2 separate regions of the Homo sapiens genome follow, and region 1 is linked to region 2. Evidence: promoter capture Hi-C in 16 types of primary human blood cells and fetal thymus (Javierre and others, 2016). All regions are on one chromosome and are shown on one strand. The core of a region is centred on a gene start or on the middle of the fragment in contact, and the rest is flanking DNA. Distances in the headings are between cores, read along the strand shown.

What was found. The method cuts DNA at HindIII sites, captures the fragments that hold promoters and counts their contacts. A CHiCAGO score of 5 or more calls a contact.
Region 1: a fragment that was not itself captured here is called in contact with the fragment with the promoter of LIPG in region 2 in 1 of 17 cell types (total B cells); the score reaches 5.5 in total B cells.

Annotation. Positions count from the first base shown.
Region 1 is chr18:50,424,269-50,430,899 of GRCh38, reverse strand. No RefSeq gene overlaps it. Among named protein-coding and RNA genes, the nearest start is that of SKA1, 53 kb to the right of the region's middle. RefSeq lists a cis regulatory region at 5,225-5,845. The HindIII fragment of the contact is 6,721 bases long and covers 1-5,594 here.
Region 2 is chr18:49,558,238-49,564,182 of GRCh38, reverse strand. LIPG (lipase G, endothelial type) reads right to left here and starts at 2,126. Exons shown (of 10, transcript NM_006033.4): 1 at 1,778-2,126. The coding sequence starts at 1,874. RefSeq lists an enhancer at 1,419-1,919. The HindIII fragment of the contact is 7,229 bases long and covers 1-5,357 here.

The sequences.
Region 1 (6,631 bases), core at 985-3,484, 870 kb before region 2:
CTGGCCCTGCCTGCACCCTCTGGCCCTGCCTGCCTCCCCCATCACTCATATGTTCACTCCAGCCACACTGACCTCTCAGCTGCTGCTGGAACCCACCAAGCACACATCCCCCGGAGACCTGGGCAGCCGCTGTTCCCTTTGGTCTCTATGCCACCCCCACCCACCACATGCCATCCAAGGATCAATGACTTTGCTCCTCGCTTCACTCTGGTCCAGTGACACCTCACCAAGGAGGTCTTACCTGACCACCCTGTCACCACAAGCCACCATCATTCTGCATCTTCTCACAGCACTTGATGTTTCCACGGCAGTTTCCACTATCCAGCATCGGCATGTATTTATTTATCATCTCTTACTCCCCTGTATCACAACTGGCCCTCTCCCCCAACTTCACACACAAAAACCACACTAGAACGAGGGCAGTCGCTGCATTCTTCACTGCTGTATCTTTGTCACCTAGAATAGTCTCTGGCATATGTTAAGAACTCCATATATATTTCTTAACTGAATAGACCGTATACATCACATGGTGGGCAATAAGTGCGGGGCTTAAAATCGTGGGTTTTGGAGTTAGGAAGAGCTGTGTTCAAATTCCACCTCTGATTTTCACAGACCACATGACCTTAGGCAATTCAGGTAACTTCTCTCAGCCTCATCTATGAAAGGGGGCTAAACTGTAACAGGGTTGTTTTGCAGGCTAAAGGGGATACTGTACGTAAATCCCTGAGCACAGTGCCCATTAGACAGTAAGTAGCAATTAACCAAAGGTCAGAAGTGTCAAAAAACAAAATTACCACAAATTTTTAAATATTTTAATTGGCTTTATTTGCAATTTTAGAATCAGGCAACACTTCATTCCATAAAATAGAATAATTGTTCTGCTGAGCTGAGCAGAGGAGATTGGTTTATAGACAAAGAAAGGCTGAGGAAAGCAGAAACAAAACAAAAAGCAAATTGGTCATTTCAAAGCGACTTTCCTTGTAAAAAAAAAATGTTAAAGCAGAGGGGACTTCCTTATGCTGGCTGGGACTGGTCTGTTTGGGGATTTGGCCATTCTCTCTCTCTCTCCTGATTTCTCAGAAGGTCAGATAAACAACTTATTTTCAGCTTGGTGATATGTAACCTTAGCATGAGTGACTCCATTTTGGTTTGGTCTGCTGGGGCCTAATCCAAAACAAAGGCCTCCTGTAAGTTTTGTCCAGCACATATGAGCAAGTGGCTAGACTTGCAGCCTAAATCTAACCCACAGAAATGTGAATGACACACCCAGAGACTGGGAATTAAAAATTAGTTGATTTCCTACACTGAAACATTGGGCACTCTTACATAAATACCTGGTTCTGGAGCTTCTCTTTAGCAACTGGCCCGTCTTCTTCAGGGCAGCCATAAGCTGGAACTCAGTAGAGGTTCCCCCTTTGGAGAGGGAAGTGTTGGACCATTTCCATGTTGTCCCAGCCCACTTCCCTGTGACATCACCTACCTGGTCGCTGTGAGCATGCCTGTTTGCACCCCAGCAATATATGGAGGTAGTAGGGTTGATGTTTTTATGGTTGGCACTTGAACAGCTGCTATTCTCTTTTAGGGTTACCCACCGTTTAAATTTTCATGGCCACTAGAGGGCAATACAGATCTATTTTTTTAAAATACAGCAAAGGTTTTTGTTTTTTTTTTTAAATGTTACACGTTCTTAAATATGTGAGTAATTTATATAAATATATATTATATATTTTTATGTGCACATATATACAGGGAAGACTTTTTCTTTTTGATGATGATGAGGAGAACAATGCTATGTGCCAGGCCATGCTGATTGTTAACATTGTTAGATGTAAACAGGAGACACCATCAGTCCTCAGCAGAGACCTAAGACCTGAGTAACTTAGACTCCACCTAGGTAGTTACACATGGAGGAGAAGCACAAACAGATGGTTTTCTTCCCTTTGCTTCCAGCCTCCTAGAGCTATGAATTCTAGCATTCACTTACGTAGCACAGGAGGAGTGAGCTAGCAGAAAGTTTAAGAGCAGAGACCATAGGGGTGTACTACTACCCAAGTTCAAATCCTGGCTATGCCACTTAGAAGACATGGGATTGTAAAAGAAAATAAAACCTCAGGATCCCTAAACTTGTTATGCCCAAGGGACAATTAAGCCTGGGAACTGAGTCATACAACACAGCCATTCGTTTTCCCCCCGAACAGATAGCTGTAATTTCACAGCCCTGTGTTGTGAAATAAGCCAGGTTCTCACAATGACAAAAGGCCATATAACTCTCTGGATGGCCTCCCTCACAAATTACAAGGAAATTCCTTGCTAGCCCCTAAATATTTCAGATGACATATCCCCCCTATAAAACAAGCACATGCCCATGGTAACCTTGGGTCTGCAATCTAAGTTTAACTCCTACAACCAAGTTCTGTTAAATCTCACACTGACAATGTCGATTACAAACTTATCTTCCCAGGTGTAGAACAAGGACAAGCTGAGATCAATCACTCCTCTGCCTCCCCTGAGATGTGTGTGTAATTGACTCTTGCCTCTACTCCCTCTTTTCAGATATTCACCTTATCTTACATAAAACGTAGACTTACTGAGCATGAAGGAGAGCCTTACCAGAATATAATCATTTGCCTCACTGCCTACCCTCCCTCCCTTTGCTTGCTCTGTCCCCTTAAATACTGAGTTCCCGAAACCCTCTTTGGAAACAGCACAGGTCACAGATGTTTCTGTGGCTTGTGTTTTTCCTGGGCATGTCCTCAAACTTTGGCTCAATAAACCTCTACTGATTGAGACATTTGCCTCAGTCACTCATTTATTGGTTAACAGGATGTTTGGTTGGTTACTTTCAGTGTAACATTTTCCACATCTGTACAAGTGGGTTGTTGGGAGGATGAAATGAATTAATATGTGTGGGGCCAGCTTCCTCAGAGAGTGGCCAATGCAGTCTCAGCCCCTGGCTCCTCCTCAGAGGGCCTCTTTTTTGGAGTAATGCTCTCTGGTTGCTGTCTTAAAATTTTTCCTAATTTTCTCTTGGAATCTGTGTTTTATAAGTGAGGTCTGATGAGCCAATGAGGCACATGCCAGGGACTTGGAGCCTCAACTCAGACGTGGTCCTGCCTCCCACTATGTCCCCAGGATGAATACTCTGCCACCTCCTCCCTGGCCCCCTGGGGCAATAGCCACAGGGAGCTAAGCACCAGGAAAGTGTCCTTTGGGAACATAGGTCACTGACAATTGGCCCAGCTTTCAGGGAATTGGGGGCAGCCTTCAAGCTGAATTCTGAGACTCAGCCTTACTGCAGGTGGAGAGAGTAAGGAGTCCTGGGAAGTGAGGCCCAGAGAGGTAAGCAGAAGAATGACAAGAACCAATTTGCTCTAAGCCAACAATAACTGCCCAAACAGTACAATTAACTACAGCAAGAATGGACCCAGATGGAATGAAGAAAAGTTTAGCACATCCCTCAAGATTAAGTATGTTTCTAAAACATCCTTCTTAAAGGATGCTTCTAGATGATCAAGAATCTCTAGTACAAGAAATCATCTTTGAGCTAACTACTAATGATCCCAAAGTAGCATAAACATTAGTTCTTAAAGCACTAGAGATTAAGAAATTCTAAATCAGATGGACATCAACAAGACAACAATATTTTGGGATTTTTCACTAAAATTTTAAAGGAGTCATAAACTTTTATGAAATCAACTGAGAATTCCACAACACCCATAAATTCATCTTATCAGTGATAATATTATAATAAGGACAGCAGTAATAAGTTTATTACTGAATAAGGTAAGGGAAGCAGAAACACTAAGGAGAAAAATTAAATGATGGTTGACTTCAATTAGGAAGACAATAGAAAAAGATTTAAATACTTTTCAACAGTAAATAGAAGACTGACAAGTTATTTCAATTTTAAAATATGCATCAAAAATATTGAAATTCCTGAGGGCAATATATTATGTTTTTAAGCAGTTTACACATTCTAATCCAACAAGTCAAGTCTACTTGGACACAGTAAATTTAGACTGATGGTTTATGACGCTCCAAACTAAAATCGGTATCATAAGACCATAAACAATCCCATTTATGTTTATTTTAATTATGATTAATGGTTTGCCATTTGTGTAGTTTTAAATGCTTTAAATAACCTGAACTTGGAATGAATCAACCTCCCCCTGAATTTACATGAAGTATTAGTTTTTTACCAAATTTGATTACAAATTATGAAAGCAAGTTTTAAAATTACCCTCCTTTGTTTTGTAATGGTAAACATCTTTTTTCAGACCTAAAATCATTCCATTCTGATATAATGGTAAACATTATTTTAAAATATTATTATTTTTGTTGTATGGTTAAATCCCATGGCTTTTCATATTTTGAAGAGTTCTGTAGCACTTTGGTAAATAAATATCAACAAATGATAAAGTTATCATGGAAATATAAATTGAAAGCCTTATTTATAAAAATGAAGTCATAATGCTTTTTCTACTCTTGCTGCTTTCACAACCAAATTTTTCTTTGTTGTATCACCTAATCAAAGTATGATGAGTGGGTCTCAGATTCAGCCTAAGAAAAGGAAGAAATGCTTATAGAAGTTCTAAAGCTAGAAAGATTTATCTACACAACTTACAGACTTTTTTGAGATATAATGTTTATAAAAATTTGGAAGAACCCAAAATGCCTAACAATACAGAACTAATTAAATATATCACATGAGAAAGTATGTATTTATTTTTTTATTTTATTTATTTATTTATTTTTTTTGAGACAGAGTCTCACTTTACTGCCCAGGCTTTGATCCCTGGGATCAAACCAGGAGGTTGGAGTGCAGTGGCATGATCTTGGCTCATTGCAAACTCTGCCTCCTGCATTCAAGCAATTCTCCTGCCTCAGCCTCCAGAGTAGCTGGGACTACAGGAGTGTGCTACCACGCCTGGCTAATTTTGTGTTTTGTAGAGATGGGGTTTCACCAAGTTGGCCAGGCTGGTCTCAAATGCCTGATTCGGGTGATCTGCCTGCCTTGGCCTCCCAAAGTGCTGGAATTACAGGTGTGAGCAACTGCACCCAGCCTGTAGGTATTTAAACTATATTATAAAACAGTATTTATTAACATGAAAATGTTTATAATCTATCACATGTTAAAAGCCAGTCATACATGTATTACATAAGGCTCTTTTTGTAAATTTGATAATGTGTATCTTTTTGGAAAGGAAAAACACTAGAAGAATTTGTTTTCACTCTTAATGGTGATTACCTTTGGGGAGATGGTGCTGTTGCGGGAATCAGGAGACTGGAGAGACCTCTGGGTGGAACAGGAAGATTTTATTGAATGCACTTAGGCCCCGTGGATTAACATCCAAAGGCTGGGCTCTGAACAAAGACAGGGCTTGACTTTTATACACACTTCTGAAAGGTGGTTGGCTAGTTTGAAACAAGTTTACAGTGGCGTGGAGTGCAGTGGCATGAAAGCAAGTGTACGGAAGCAGAACAAAGGCAGTTAATCAAACTGTGACAGGTTCATAACTCAGGCTTTCATGTGACTCTTGCTATGCGGCCCAGATGGCTGTTATCTCAGCTTGCTCAAGAGCCTTGCACAAGCTTATCTCATATCCTTCACTATGGTGCCTAGATGGCTGCAGTCCAGTCCTGCTCAGGCATGTCTCATGACCTTCACTGTGCTACTCAGATGAAAAACAGAAATTTACAGTCACTAGTTACAGAAAATAGGAATCCATAAACTCATAAAACTTGCAGAGCAGAGTACAACCACATGGAGTGGGGAGGAATTTTGTGGGGGACGTTTACTCATACCAAAGGAGAGAGGAAAATTTGTTTTTCTTTTTCACATTTCCTGCTTCAGTGCATTCTCTAATGACTTTTTCTCTTTCTTTCTTTCTTTCTTTCTTTTTTTTTTTTTTTTTTGAGATGAAATCTCACTGTGTCACCCAGGCTGGAGTGCAGTGGCGTGATCTCAGCTCACTGCAAGCTCCTCCTCCTGGGTTCACACCATTCTCCTGCCTCAGCCTCCCAAGTAGCTGGGACTACAGGTGCCTGCCACCACGCTTGGCTAATTTTTTGTATTTTTTAGTAGAGGCAGAGTTTCACCATATTAGCCAGGATGGTTTCGATCTCCTGACCTCGTGATCCACCCGCCTCAGCCTCCCAAAGTGCTAGTATTACAGGCGTGAGCCACCGCACCTGGCCTTTTTTTTTTTTTTTTTTTTTTTTTTTTGAGAAGGTATCTTGCTCTGCCACCCAAGCTGGAGTGCAGTGGTGTGATCTCAGCTCACTGCAACCTCTGCATCCCGGGTTCAAGTGATTCTCTTGCCTCAGCCTCCCCAGTAGCTGGGATTACAGGCACCCACCACCATGCCTGGCTAATTGTTTGTATTTTTAGTAAAGACAGGGTTTCACCATGTTAGCCAGGCTGGTCTCGAACTCCTGACCTCAGGTGATCTGCCTGCCTCGGCCTCCCAAAGTGCTGGCATTGCAGGCATGAGCCACCACACCTGGCCCCTTATGACTTTTTTGTTTCCTTATGAATGTCTATGCATAAGACACTGTCTGGAACATTAAATCATCTTGAAAGTGCATGTCTGTGGGATCATATCTGGACTCTCAGTTAACAGAAAACTTG
Region 2 (5,945 bases), core at 877-3,376:
ATACCAAAAGGAAAGAGATATAGTGGTGGAGAGGGCGGAGGGGAAAGGAGGGAGAGAGGGGGAAGAATGCAGCAGATGTAAGAGGGATAAGGTTCCAGAAAATGCTGCTGAATGCACATGAGCGGAAGTCAGGTTAACCGTCATGAAAGTAATGAACAAAAGCCCCAACCAGCAGAAATTTGAACCACGGACATAATGAGTTCGACAACTCCCCACCTTCTACCCAGATAGCCACTCATGCAGAGGCCAGATGGGGAAACCTAGGAGAAAAGAAGTCTCCTGGATTCCTGAGACAGATCTGCGGATAAACCCACATATGGACAAAGACTCTTCCTCTTAGAGTCTGACCTGCTCTGACCCCAAAGTTCTCTAGGTACATTCCTACTACTTTTGGCCTGGGTCACTTCAGCCTCTGGGACTTTCTGATTGTTCCTCACCCAGATGTCCTCATGGCTCCTTCTCTCACCCCCTTCAGCTCTTTGCTCAATGGTCAACTTCTCCAGAAAGGCCTTCCCTGACCACATCATAAAATCGCACCACCTTCCCCCACCAACATGCCCCACCTTCCTCCTCTGCTTGATTTTTCTCCATAATACTGAGCACCACTGATACTTTAATCAGTGCACTGTCTGTCTTCCCACCACTGAAATGTAAGTGTCACAAGGGCACAGATTGCCATCTATTTTGTCCACTGCTCTCTCCCCTGCTCCCAGAATAGTGTCTGACACTAAGTAGGTATGCAGTAAATACTTTTTGCAATGAAGGAAATGACTCACACATACTCAGAGGCCCAGAACACAGAAGTTAGAAGGAACTTTAGCATTTTACAGGTGAGGAGCCAGAGATGAGACCTGCCCTAGGCAATGCTTCTAGTTAGCACCAGAGTTGGAAACATGTTGAGTAAAGCAAGGCTTTCCATTCATTCACAGTAACCCTCCCACACATACACAAGCCCACACAGACCATTTGGCACAACCTCAGCAGACTAGAAGATGAGATGATGGGGTTCAGTTTAGAGGCTCCCCAGCCCTCCACTGCTTATCAGCTGACTTAGTTCTCACTCTGATTCTGACTCCCCCAGAGCTGACTGACTCTGGCTCCCCCAGGGCAAGCTGCCTCCACTGGCAAAGGCTGCCATACAGAACCCAAGAGGAAGAGAAGCTAAAAGCCAGGAGGAGGAAAGGGAGGAGGAGTGGGAAGAGGAAGAGTCGGGGGAGCACAAGAGTGTTGAAGAGGAAAAGGCTGGCAACCTGGGGGAATAGGCCCGGCAGCTTCTAAGCACAAGCGACCCACCAGACGCTCCCTGCAAGCACGAATCAAACCAAAGCCAGCTACCCTGCCACCTGAACTTTCAAGACACCTACACCAAGATTAAAAGGCAGCTCCAGGAGACACAGCTCTGACAGCCTTCTTGCCTCTCAAACCTCCAGGTTCAGGCATGAGGACAAGGTTTCAGAGCTGCTGCCAGGCCGCTCGGCTGGCTGGACAGCACCAGCACTGGCTTAGGGAGCCGTATAAGGGAAGGAGGTGGGGGTGGGAGGGCTGGCAAGAGCCAGCGCACCCTGCCAGCCTTTGCCTTTTGCATGACTTGCCGGGAATGCCCCCATCAGACCAGCAGAGAGACAGGTGGACTCCAAGGTGGATTGGAGGAGAGAATGGGCAGCGCAGTGGGAAAGGAAGAATTTCATAGGAACAAGGAGGGTTTGAAGAATCAGCAAGACAGAGGGGACCCAGCACAGAGAAGTGGCTGGGGGGAATAAAAACAAATTCACGTTACCTTCCAGCCGTCCCTCTGGACCAAAAGGTACGGGGCTCCCCGCAGCAAAGCAATAGCAGAGGCTCCAGAAACAGAGCAGAGGAACGGAGTTGCTCATCCTGCCCCGCCACACCCCCTCCCAAGAAACAGAAGTTTTAAAAAACAAAAACCACCTCTTGGTGTTTCCAGCAATCCCGGCCGGTAAGACCCTTCTCTCGGCCAGGGGCTGGGGGACTGGAGGCAGAGAAGGTGGAAAATGAAAACTTGGCGGCACGGAGCCCGGGCGGTGGCAGGGAGCGAGTGTCAACGGCTTGCCCCAGAACGAGATCTGCCCTCGTCCTGAGCCGCCGGGAGGCAAGGACTCGCTGCTGTCACGCTCCTATAGAGGTAGTTTTTAAAAGTATGGGAGTCATCTGACCCATCGCCAGATGGTGATTTGCATAATTTATTCCCGTCTCTGGGCTCTGATTGGTCACACCTTGCTGACGCCGGAACCGAGACTGGAGAAAGTTTGAATGAAAGCGCTGCACACTCACCGCGTGGACGCCGCACGCTCGGCCCCGCTTCCTCCCGGGCCCGCTCCGCAGGCAGCTGCGACTCCAGCAGCTCCAGCTTTCTCCCACTGCCCTCCTCCGGACACCCAGATCCTCCTCTCCCCACTGCCATCCCAAGTGGCGGAGGCGGACATTTCCCTGAAACTCTGCGTCCGCTGGGGAGGCGATCCCTGGAGAAGGAGAGCATCCTCTCCAAGGCTCAAAGCCACACTCTCTCTGGGAGTGGTCTATCCGCTCCCTGGGCCGGGAGTCCGTCGGGGGAGAGCCACCTGGTCATCCCCTTTGTCCTCCTCTTCTCCCTCCCTTCCCGCCTAGCGAGGGCCGCAACAGGTGCAGAAGGCGCGGCCGCACAATAACCCGGCGGAGCTAAGGGGCTGTGAGCTGCGGCCGGCGCTGGAGGATCGCACAGTACCTGCTCGGAATGCTCGCTCCGCCACTAGCTGCAAAACTCCAAGCGAGCCAGCCAGCTTCTCCGAGGCGGTTCTCTCGTCCGCAATACGTGGGTGATAATGTATCGGCGGCTTAGGGATGTTGGGAAAACTAAGAGTTCACGTAGCAAAGCACTTAGCGAGGCGCGGAGCTCGTGGCAGGCGCTCTCCTACGGTGGGGTGGAGGGCTACGGGAACACCAGGCGACCTCCTCAAAGGGACCAGTGAGCCGAGATTTGGAGTCTAAGACGCGTGGCCAGAGCCCAGTGTCTGCCGATGAGCACTCACTCCTTGGCGAGTGAAATCAAGCATCTCCTTTCTCTCTGTTCTCCATCATTTCCTCCCGGCTCTCCTTCCCTTTATTGATCCGGGTCCTGCGGCAGAAAGCAGCGAGCGGAGGGAGAACTTGGCCCGGAGTCTGCGTCTGGCGCTGGGGAGCGGGGACTGAGCCCGGAACACCGACGGGGCGGCTGCGCCAACAACCACTGCGGACGCAGGGCGGGTACGAGAGGCTGAGAGGCTGCGTCCCGCCATCCAGCCTCGCTCCAGCCGGGAGGATCCGGCTCTTTAAGACGATACCCTTAACCCTGCAGTCGCCCGGAACAGGTCCTGCCCCTGCCTGGGGAGGGAAAACCCCCACAGCAGTCCCGCGCCCCTTCCTCCCTAGCGTCGAGGATCCAGCTGGAGAGACCTGTGCGAGGAAACCGAGCCGGAGCCAGCAGATCCTGTTCCGACCTCGCCTCATTACTTTTGTTACTCCAGCTGCCAGCAGAGCACGCTTTGTCCCTCCCGTGTGCTATCATTCATTAACAAGACTCAGGCGGGCTTTAGTTTTTTAGTATAGAACTCAATGGTCTGTGTGCGATGGTAAATATCACCCCCGGATATGTTGTTCCCACTCTGTCTCTCTCTTCATGAGGAAACTATACAGACATAGGTCTAATGTTATCTCCATTTTACAGATGGGAAAACTGAGTCATGGGGACAGGCTGCAGATTTGAAGAAAGTCTCAAGACAACCAGGTCTCTCTTCTCTGCTCTAGGTTCAATTTGGCCAATTGACCTTTAAATGTGAGCTCTTGGCAACCTGGTCTAGTGGCTGAGGCAGGGGGTAAGCTGTAGTCAAAAGTCCTCTTCCCTAACCCTGGCAACATAGACACTCATCTCTACCAAAAAAAATTTTTAAATTAGCCAGGCAAGGTGGTACACCTGTAGTGCAAGCTATTAATACTTGGGAGGCTGAGGCGGAAGGAGTCCTTGAGCCCAGGAGTTCAGGGCTGCAATGTACCATGATCACACCACTACACTCCAGCCTGGACATCAGAAGAAAAAAACTCCTTCCCTGTTCTGAGTTGCTCATAGCCATGGTCCCTAGAACATTAACTGGATAATGTGGAGAGTGTGTCTTGAGAGCCTTTGTTATAGGTGAGATACCCCCACGGAAGCTAGGGTATTTTGCAGGGTATTGTTGGAAGGTAGTCCTGCAAAGTTAGTTATCCTGCCTAGAAAAAAAGAAAAACCCGGCCGGGCGCAGTGGCTCACACCTGTAATCCCAACACTTTGGGAGGCCGAGGCGGGCGGATCACCTGAGGTCAGAAGTTCGAGACCAGCCTGACCAACATGGAGAAACTCCATCTCTACTAAAAATACACAAAAAATTAGCTGGGCGTGGTGGCGCATCCCTATGATCCCAGCTACTCGGGAGGCTGAGGCAGGAGAATCGCGTGAGCCTGGGAGGCGGAGGTTGTGGTGAGCCAAGATCGCACCATTGCACTCCAGCCTGGGCAACAAGAGTGAAACTCCTTTGCAAATAAATAAATAAGTAAATGAAAAACCTGTGTTTTACAGGTTCAACAAATCAACATCTATTTTTTAACTGCCAAGGCTATGAAACCATTTAGGTTTTATTGCTAGTTGGTTAGAGTGCCCTCCTGTGTCTCCACATTAAAATAACATGCGAGAATTTTCAAAGGACATCATGAAATTATAATTGTAGCATTAGAATGTATGATGTCAACTGTTCTGCTTCATCCTTCCCAAGAACAAGGAGATCTGAAGAGCCTCTCGCCTGGAGGAGTTCCAGCTGAGGAGTCTTGATGGAACTTCTGCTGTGTTGCAGTCAAAATTTCAAGGTCTCAGACAACACAAGGAAAGGGTTCCATCCTTATGTGGCAGCCCAGCATCTAAAGACCCTTCCAATGTTAAAGGAATAAATCTTCTGCTTATGATAAGACCCAACTCTCCACTAAAAAAAAGCTCAAAAGCAATTGCTCACCTTCCCAGCCCCAGCCTCTCTTGCAGCTAGAGTCCCCGATTCAAACTCAGTCAACTGAACTCTGAACTGGAAACTAATGAGGCTGGAAGCACATACCCACGCCACTCTGCCAATGGACAGCCAGCTCTGGTTCTCTGGGGCAGCAGTGGAGTCACCCCCAGACTAGTCTGCAGTGGGATTTGGGACATTGCTGTCTGCCTGAGTATATCCTCCAAGCCTGGTTCTTCTGCCCTGCAGATTCCAGTTGTTACCCAATATTCTCTTAATGAGGTCCTCTTTTACATACATTATCCAGAGACTGTTTATATTCTTACAACCAAGAAAATGACTTAATTGCCAGAAGCTTATTGAGCAGCTGCTAGGGAGGAAACACTGGCCTGGAGACCATGCCTGTGCTCTCACAGACACAATACAGAAAGTTACAAGTGCCAGAAGGCTGGCTGGTATGTAGGAGTTCCCAGATATCTGGACCAATGCTGTCCAACAGAAATATATAATACAAACCGCATGTCTTGGTCAGTTTGGGCTGCCAGAACAGTATACCATAGACTTAGTGGCTTTAAACAGAAATTTATTTTCTCATAGTTCTGGAGACTAGAAGTCCAAGATCAGGGTACCAGCATAGTCGGTTTCTGGTGAGGGCCCTCTTTCTGGCTTATAGATGGCTGCCTTCTCACTGTGTCCTCACATGGCAGAGAGAGAGAGAGGAGAGAGAGAGAGAGAGAGAGAGAGAGAGAGAAAGAACACGCTGATGTCTCTTCCAATAACAACTCTAATCCCATCATGGTGCCTCACCTCATAACCTCATCTAAACCAAATGATCTCCCACAGGCCCCATCTCCAAATACATCATAGGGAGTTAGGGCTTCAACATAGGAATTTGAGGGGGTCCCAATTCAGTCCATAGCGGCACATGTATAATTTTATGTTTCC